Regions from separate parts of the Homo sapiens genome. Here region 1 is linked to region 2. Evidence: promoter capture Hi-C in human tissues and cell types (Jung and others, 2019). All regions are on one chromosome and are shown on one strand. The core of a region is centred on a gene start or on the middle of the fragment in contact, and the rest is flanking DNA. Distances in the headings are between cores, read along the strand shown.

The links. The method cuts DNA at HindIII sites, captures the fragments that hold promoters and counts their contacts. A contact is called where the count stands out against the background at its distance.
Region 1: a contact is called between a fragment that was not itself captured here and the fragment with the promoter of ARPP19 in region 2, in 1 of the 25 tissues and cell types used here (dorsolateral prefrontal cortex).

The regions. Positions count from the first base shown.
Region 1 is chr15:51,992,095-51,996,777 of GRCh38, reverse strand. It overlaps a transcript of MAPK6 not described here. Among named protein-coding and RNA genes, the nearest start is that of LEO1, 23 kb to the right of the region's middle. The HindIII fragment of the contact is 6,257 bases long and covers 1-4,455 here.
Region 2 is chr15:52,566,593-52,570,996 of GRCh38, reverse strand. ARPP19 (cAMP regulated phosphoprotein 19) reads left to right here and starts at 1,967. Exons shown (of 3, transcript NM_006628.6): 1 at 1,967-2,149. The coding sequence starts at 2,105. RefSeq lists enhancers at 1,438-1,567, 1,621-2,367, 2,368-3,116 and silencers at 2,038-2,097, 2,168-2,267. The HindIII fragment of the contact is 6,620 bases long and covers 1-4,404 here.

The DNA.
Region 1 (4,683 bases), core at 78-2,577, 570 kb after region 2:
CAGGCTGCAGTGATCTATGGTCATGCCACTGCACTCCAGCCTGGGAAATAGAATGACACTTTGTCAAGAAGAAGGAGGAGGAGGACGGGCGCCGTGGCTCATGCTTGTAGTCTTAGTGCTTTGGGAGGCCCAGACAGGTGGATCGCTTGAGGCCAGGAGTTCGAGACTATCCTGGCCAATATGGCGAAACCTCGTTTCTACTAAAAATACAAAAATTAGCTGGGCATGGTGGCACATGCCTGTAATTCCAGCTATTCGGGAGGCTGAGGCAGGAGAATCACTTGAATCCAAGAGGTGGAGGTTGCAGTGAGCCAAGATTGCACCACTGCACTCCAGCCTGGGTGACAGAGCAAGACTCTGTCTCAAAAAAATAATAAATACATAAATAAATAAAAGGGGAATATTTCCACCAGGGGACACAGCCAAAGTCTCTGAATTACTAGCAAAAGCTGCCATCTGGGCATTGAAGACTCCTAGAATCCAGAGACAAGCAGGCTAGAAGTAGACCAACAATCTTGGCGGGGGTATTGACCCTGGTCATTAGAAGAGGTTAGGTCTTCTTCTGTTATACGATAAGGGGAAGGAAAAATGTTTCAGTGCTCTGAGGATCTGCTTGAATGCCTCTTGTTGTTATTCCCTTGCCTTGTTGTGAAGGTAAATGGATAATACAGCAACTCTGTCCTTAGAAAGGCCTGGTGACCAGAAACTCAGACCTCTCTGAGATGGGAATCTAAATCGCCTCCCCAGGTAAGTTACCAAGGCTGAAAGCGGTGGTAGCTGAGGATGAGAGGAATTTAGAAAGCCTGTAAGTTGTTTTTTTCCTTCTTTCTTTCCTTCTTTCTTTTTTTTTGAAACGGAATCTCACTCTGTAGCCCAGGCTGGAGTGTAGTGCTGTGATCTCAGCTCACTGCCACCTCTGCCTCCCGGGTTTAAGCGATTCTCCTGCCTCAGCCTCCTGAGTAGCTGGGACTATAGGCATGCGCCACCATGCCTGGCTAATTTTTGTATTTTTAGTAGAGACAGGGTTTCACCATGTTGGGCAGGATATTCTCAAATTCTTGACCTCAAGTGACCCACTCACCTCGGCCTCCCACAGTGCTGGGATTACAGGCATGAGCCACTGCGCCTGGCCTAGAAAGCCTGTAAGTTTTGATTGTGGCCCCAGGAACAACTATAGCGGAGGCAGCTATAGTTTGTCCTATAAGTCTTCCTTTTCAAAGTTTCCCCAGGGAGAGAGGCCTATCATAAATCTTGCAGGAGTTACTACTCAAACGTATATGAAGAAGTGGATGTGAAAGCAGCACAAGAATGAACACAGAGATGAAGCCACTGAGCTTCCCTTTATGGAAGGACTTCTTGTCCCTTCTACTTGGAGTACTGTCAGCAGACAGCAATCAGTCATCAACTCCTACAGCTGCAGAAAGCAACCTCACCCAAGCTCATGCCCTTTTGGGAACAGTCTGCATCCAGCAGCTGATCAAGGTATAATTTGGAAGTCTAGCCCTTTCAGGCTGGTTTGGGACAATGCCCAAGGGTCGCTGTAGCTCCAGAGCTCCTCATGAGGTCAGCTGAGGCTGCTGGGCCTTCCTTACATACAGTTTACTTTTCCTTCTGTCTAAGCCTGCTTCCTCCTCTGCCCTGGCACAGGTGTCGATCCCAAAGACACTCCCTAGCAAACATCCTGGACACTAAACTCTGACTCAGAGACTTCTTGCAAAGCTTAAACTGTGAAAATGCCCCATCATGCCCAAATACTTTAGTATTTCTTGCTAATAAGCATATTCCTCCAGCACAATCATCACAATCAGCAATGTTCAGAAATGATGGTTGTATTTAGTTATTATAGGTCTTCCGTCTTCTTCAATCTTGAATGGTTCCTTAGACTCTTTTACTTCTATGACTTTGATACTTTTCTAGATTACAGGCCATTTATTTTTATAGAATGTCTTTCCATGTAGGCTTGTCTGAGGTTTTATCATGATTAGATTCATGCACCTTTGGCAGAACAATCAGAGAATCAACGCTGTGTTCTTCCAATAGCATGATGTCAATTTGTCCCATCACTGATGTGGCTGATTTTGATCACTTGAATAACATGGTGTCTTCCAGACTTTTCCACTGTAAAGTTACTCTTTTTCTCTTTGTACTTAAGTATTTTGTGAGGAATACCTTGAAGCTATGTAAATATTCCATTCCTCATCAAACTTCCAGTTTTAAAAAAAATCTTTTTTTTAGATACTGGGTCTTGCTCTGTTGCCCAGGCTGGAGTACAGTGGCACGATCATTGCTTACCACAGTGATAATCATGATGAAACCTCAGACGAACCTAAATTAAAAGACATTCTATAAAAATAAATGGCCTGTAATCTAGTCTGAAATTCCTGGGTTCAAGCAATCCTCTGTCTCAGCCTCTGGTATGAGCCACCATGCCCAGCATCTGCCTCAGCCCGGGAATCAGCCATTCTCCAAGGGGCCCTGGTTCCTTTTGGTGGAGAATGGTATTTAGAAACCAAGAGCTGGCCAGGCGCGGTGGCTCACACCTGTAATCCCAGCACTTTAGGAGGGTGAGGTGGGCAGATCACCTGAGGCTGGGAGTTCGAGACCAGCCTGACCAACATAGAGAAACCCCGTCTCTACTAAAAATACAAAATTAGCCAGGCATGTTGGCGAATGCCTGTAATCCCAGCTATTCGGGAGGCTGAGGCAGGAGAATCGCTTGAACCCAGGAGGTGGAGGTTTCAGTGAGCCAAGATCGTGCCATTGCACTCCAGCCTGGGTGACAAGAGCAAAACTCTGTCTCAAAAAAAGTATAAATAAATAAATAAATAAAAAGAAACCGAGAGCTAAGCTGGGCATGGTGGTGTGTTCCGGTAATCCCAGCTACTTGGGAAAGAGAGGCAGAGGATTCTTCAGTCCAGGAGTTTGAGACTAGCCTGAGCAACATAGTGAGACCTCATGTCAAAAAAAAAAAAAAAGAAAGAAAAAAGAAAAGAAAGAAAAGAGAAACCAAGATCTGGGCATTATGTGTACGCATTGCTATTAGGTGTCACTGTTCTCAGGCCCTTTTTGTGGACAGAGCTAGGGAATATATGAAATATATGTATGTGTGTACATATATGTGAGCATTTATATATATAAACTTTTACATATACACACATTTACATCTATATTTATTTCTACATCCATCTATCTATATTTAAAATTATGAATTTACACTAATACCTTTCTAATCCAACACCAAATAATTCTTCTAGTTTTTTCACTTTCCACATATGTAACTCCATTTCTGCCAGTGAGAAACTTGATTCCTGCTATCCTTAACATGATGACTTATTTAATCAATCCTTCCATTTGTAAACAATCTCCTGGGTCTGTCTGTGACATCGTAAGGTATATATTTTGATCTTCATTTGCAGTTCCTGATGTAGCGCTCCTAAAAACCCTTCTAATTTCCTGAGCAATAGTGGTGCTAGGAGGATCTTTTGTTCTAATATTTGGTCTTTGACCTTGGTTCCTGACTCAGAGCTCCCAAGACTTGTGTAATTTCCTGAGTGACAGGTGCATATGATACAGAGCTCCTAAAGATCCTTGGAAATTCCTCTGATTGGTGCATCTTTTTCTAATGAGGTAACTTTTGGTACACTCCTGAATAGCCTCAGAATGGGAGCTGGTTGCCAGGGGAACCAACTATGTGATTGGAGGGTTAGAAATTTTACCCCCCCACCAACCATAGACCTCCAGGGAGGGGAGAGAGGTTGAAGGTTGAGCTGACCAGCAAAGACTGATGATCTCATCAGTCATGCCTACATAATGAAGCCCCCATAAAAACCCAAAGGGACAGGATTTGGAGAGCTTCCAGATAAGTGAACACGTGGAGGTTCCTGGAGGGAGGTGCTCCCAGAGGCGGCATGGAAGTCCTACACCCCTTCTTCCATACCTTGCCCTATGCATCTCCTCCATCCGACTGTTCATCCATCCGTATCCTTTGTGATATTCTTTAGGCGATAAATTGGTAAACATAAGTAAAAAGCATTTCCCTGAGTCTTTGAGCCACTCTAGCAAACTAATTGAACCCAAGGAGAGAGTCATGGAAACCCCACTTTATAGCTGATGGGTCAGAAGTACAGGTCAGAACCTGGGACTTGTGATTGGCATCTAAAATGGGGGACGGCTTGGCTGTGCGTGGTGGCTCACGCTTGTAATCCCAGCTCTTTGGGAGGCCGAGGTGGGTGGATCGCAAGGTCAGAAGATCGAGACCATCCTGGCTAACATGGTGAAACCCCGTCTCTACTAAAAAAAATGCAAAAAATTAGCCAGATGTGGTGGCGTGCACCTGTAGTTCCAGCTACCCGGGAGGCTGAGGCAGGAGAATGGTGTGAACCTGGGAGGCAGAGCTTGCAGTGAGCCGAGATCGCACCACTGCACTCCAGCCTGGGCTAGAGTGCGAGACTCTGTCTCAAAAAAAAAAAAAATATATATATATATAGATAGATAGATAGATAGATAGATAAATGAGGGACAGCCGGGTGCGGTGGCTCATGCCTGTAAGCCCACCACTTTGGGAGGCTGAGATAGGCAGATCACTTGAGACCAGGAGTTCAAGACCAGCCTGTGCAACATGGCAAAACCCTGTCTCTACAAAAAATACAAACAACGAGCCAAGCGTGGTGGTGTGCGCTTATA
Region 2 (4,404 bases), core at 718-3,217:
TGACCAAAGTCTGCCCCCAGAAATTCAAACTTCCCCTTCTGCGAGTGTCACTATCAGAAACAGATTCTTTTTATCCAAGGTCACATAGCCAATTTTAAAAAAAAGGCCAGATGTGGTGGCTCGCTCCTATAATCCCAGCACTTTGGGAGGCCGAGGCGGGTGGATCACTTGAGGCCGGGAGTTCGAGACCAGCCTGGACAACACGGCAAAACCCTGTCTCTACTAAAAATACAAAAAATTATCAGGGTGTGGTGGTGGGCAACTGTAATCCCAGCTACTTGGGAGGCAGAGGCAGGAGAATTGCTTGAACCCAGGAAGTGGAGGTTGCAGTGAGCCGAGATTGTGCCATTGCACTCCAGCCTGGGTGACAGAGTTGAGACTCTGTCTCAAAAAGAAAAAGAAAAAAAAGTTTTTTTTCTTTTTGTAGAGACAGAGATTTGCCATGTTGGCCAGGCTGGTCTTGAACTCCTGAGCTCGAGCGATTTGCCCGCCTTGGCCTCCCAAAGTGCTGGGATTACGAGTGAGCCACTGTGCCCAGCCACAGCCAATTTTCTTGAGGCTGAGTTTCATCATTAAGTGTATGTCTATCAGATTTTAACTCAAGTTCACAAATACATTGATATAGGACATATACTAGAACGTCAGTCAATTTATTAATAAAAATACAACTGTTAAATGCTTCAGTGGCCTAACTACTGCACTCTTCTTTCTCTCTGCAGTTCTGCTTAAGGGAAAGGCAAATTTTCAGTATGTTACTTTGTGAGTATAGAAGGAGAACAAATATGTCGTGGATCTTACAGTTTCTCAGCTAGCCCAGCGTGAGACATTCTTAAGGGATATCTTTGTCAAACAGTTGGCCTGTTGAACCCTTTTATTTTCAATACTTCCTTGGCTGACAAATGCCTTCCTTCGTTTCTCCAAAAGGAGTGCAATATTAACTCTTTTTGTTTTTCTAGTTGCAATTCCAGTGCAATTCTTCCTGTCTGAGATTCTACATCCTGGTTGAGTTTCGATGGTTTCCAAATTCCTTATCCAGGCATTTAGGGTCTTTCAATTGTTCCCCTGCCCCCAGAAATGCATTCATTTTCTGTGGCTTTTTACTAGTTTAACTTTTAGAGGGCAATCTTATTTCCAAGTTTCTGAGGGACACTTTGTTGGAACCAACAAACATTGCGAGTAACTATTCAGATATCAAGTAGAATGAGGATTCAGTAAGAAGCCGCAGGACTTGGCAAATAAAAAGGTCATTGGGGGAGCTCAATGCTAGCAGTTTCGGTAAGCTTGTGGGAGTGGACCCCCTGGGAGTGGACAAATGAATCTGAATTCCTTCGTTAGATATCTAGGAAGTGCTGGACCCTCAGAGTAAAATATAAGTAATTACAGACGAGATCCCTGCCCTGGTGCGGCTTATCTGAGAAGGAAAGGTGACCTAAAGTCACGACAATTGTGTAATGATACAGTTCATGTTGTTGAGGAACTGTACAGGGCTGTGACAGCCTTTAAGAGGTGGCTCTGGCCTAGTGTAGAGGTTTAGGAAGGAAAGGTTCTGAGGCAGAGACGTAGGACTGGAGATGTGAAGGCGTGGCAGAGTGGAGCAAGACTTTTGGCGTGCCCAAAAGACAGCCTGTGTGGCTACAGAGCGGAGAGCGAGGAGAACAGAACTAGGCGAGGATGGGTAAGTGGAAAGAGTAAAATAAAGCTCCTAGAACGAGGGGACCAGAGTGGACAGGAAAGGGCGGGGAGGGGCGGTTCCACTTAGAAACTACAATTCCCAGGAAGCACTCGGCAGCCACAAACGGATGTGAGGTGAGGCAGGAGCGGCGACCTTTGAAGGAAAAAAGGAAGTGTTTGGACGACAGCGAGCGGGAGAAGCGGGGTCAAGTAGGTAGGGGTGCGGTGCGGGAGGGGCAGGCGGGCTCCGGCGTGCGAGGGCCTTGGCCAGCGGAGCGTTTCGCGGCTCCGTGTCGTCATAAGGCGGCGGCCATTTTCGCGGGCGGAGGCGGCCCGGCGGGCCCTGGGAGAGCTGGGACGGGCGGCGGCCGGGTGGCCTCGGCCACCCGCTAATTGCATCTTTTCCCGGCGTCTCGTCTGCAGAGGGAGCACTATGTCTGCGGAAGTCCCCGAGGCAGCCTCCGCGGAGGAGCAGAAGGTGAGCGCGCGGGGCGTGAGCCCTGGGCCCTGCCCAAGGCCGGGTCTGGCGGGCGGCCTGCTCCCGCCAGGCGGAGGGCCGCGCCCGAGATGCGGGGCCGAGGCGCATGAGGCCGAGGCTCCTGCGCCCCACCTTTGGCTTCCCGCCGTCGCTGGCTGGTGCGCCGACGAATTGGGAGTTCCAACGTGCCCCGCGTTTACTCCGAATCGTGCCTTTTGTAACACCTCCGTGGGTCGCGGTGTTCCTCAGTCACTTATATTTACGCGAGAGCCCAGGACGCAGGCTTTGGGCGTAGAGCCTAAGTTTTTCTGTAAGCCTCAATTTGGTTAGGAAGTTTTATTTTTTCCTTTGAAGAACTCTCCAACTACTTGTATTGTGAGCGTGCGGTTCACTCCAAAAGCAGTGCCTCGTGTGCGGGCCGCGATGTGGGCCAGGATTGGCATTTCAGGGCCAACCCTTGTAACCATGGTCAGTGAGTAAAGTCCGGCCTTCAGTGTCTTCACCTGTAAAGGCCGAATACTGGTGCTTGCCTCCCACGGCGGGGTGAGGCCTAGAGGAGGTGAGTCAGGTGTAGTGTGCAGCGCAGTCTGTGCTCAAAAAGGTTTCAGTCGATGGGACTCAAATATGGTACTTGACTAAAAATCGAAAGGGTGGAATTTTAAAATTTTACTCACGAAATTAATCAGGGTTTTATTGGAAACAGGAATATTTTGTAAACGCCCTTGTGTCTTCCTGATGTAGGGGAATAGGCCGGGAGTGTCACTGTGGTTCAAATTATGAATATCAAGCCTTTGTATTTATCTAGGCTGGTGTTTGTCTCTCCCACTGTAATTATTTCCACCGCCCTGCCCTCCTAGGCAGGTGTGACTGGCCGAGAAGTGAGAAAGGGCCGAGGTATCTTGTCTCCTAAATTGTTTATCAACAATTTTTCTTACAAATCAGGTTGTGTTGCCGTTAAATACGATTTTGGTCTACTGCTTGACCTTCGTGCGGGTTTCTGCTTAATGTTGCACTTATGTCCTAATTAAGTTGGGAATTGGATTAGTGTTCTAAGCCCATTCCATATGTTCTTAAAACCGTGTTAACTTTTCTTAAGTTGGGTGCTTCTGTTAGGATGTTAAAGTAATTGAAAAACAAGAAAACATATAGCATAGGTAAAAGTCCAAGTTACCACATTATTTGAGAATATCCCGTGAAAATAGATATATTTACGCATTACCAAAAAAATGGATTTTGGGGGCAAAAATACAAATATTAAAGTTTGCAATCTTAACAGTATTATTAAGTATCACCTGCTTATTGTAAAATGCGTATTGTGTTCATTATTGCTTGAAATTTAGGAGCCCCCAAAAATAACAAGTCCCTGTCTGTGGTGGTTTGCCTTAAACACTTACATCAAACTTAGCATTAACTTCTGGTGCACAGTAGTGTGCTATGTAATTTTCTTTGATAAGTTCTGTTAGTATGTTGCCAAAGTATGCAGTATTGACTTCTAGAGTGTAAATACTTTTACTTGGAAAAGCCTAATGTATCTTTTAACAATATTAAGGATAGCTTGAACGTTTTCTCTTATTGATTGTCTACATTAAACATTTAAGGTGCTTTGGTTTTAGCTGCTGTCATTAAAATCAACCAAAGTGTGTTAGGAATATAATGTTCCTTCTTAAATTGAGGATTGGCTGTAAATGCTAAGTGCCTGTGGCGTGGATGGTGTCCCTAACCATGAAGAAAATGTGCACAGTCACTTCTGTGTTCCTGTGGGCCAAATCACCTGTTTCTTCTATTTGGAAGATCAGTTCGATGACCTAAAAAATTAAGTTATTGTCTGTGTACCCAATTGACCTTCCACTTAAAGCCAAAGTATTCAGCTAAAAATACCTTTATAGTTTACTGGTAGGTTGCCTGTTGCCGCTAAAGAATTAAGGTAGATAGCTGGGCCTTGCATGGAGTAAAAGCTAAGTCACTTTCTCTATCTTGAGTGGTGTGTGCACCCTTGGTAAGAGAAGAAAACCAGATAGATTCCTGTCTTGTATTAGGAAACAATATGTACAAACATAAAAAATAAGTATAAACTCTTATCTCTTAACTTGTATACCACTCTAAGACTAAAACAGCCAGGCGTGGTGGCTCTTGCCTATAATTCTGGCACTTTGGGAGGCTGAGGCAGGAGGATTGCTTGAGGCCAGGAGTTTGAGACCAGCCTGGTCAACATAGTAAGATTCTGTCTCTACAAAATAAAATAAAATAAAATAAAA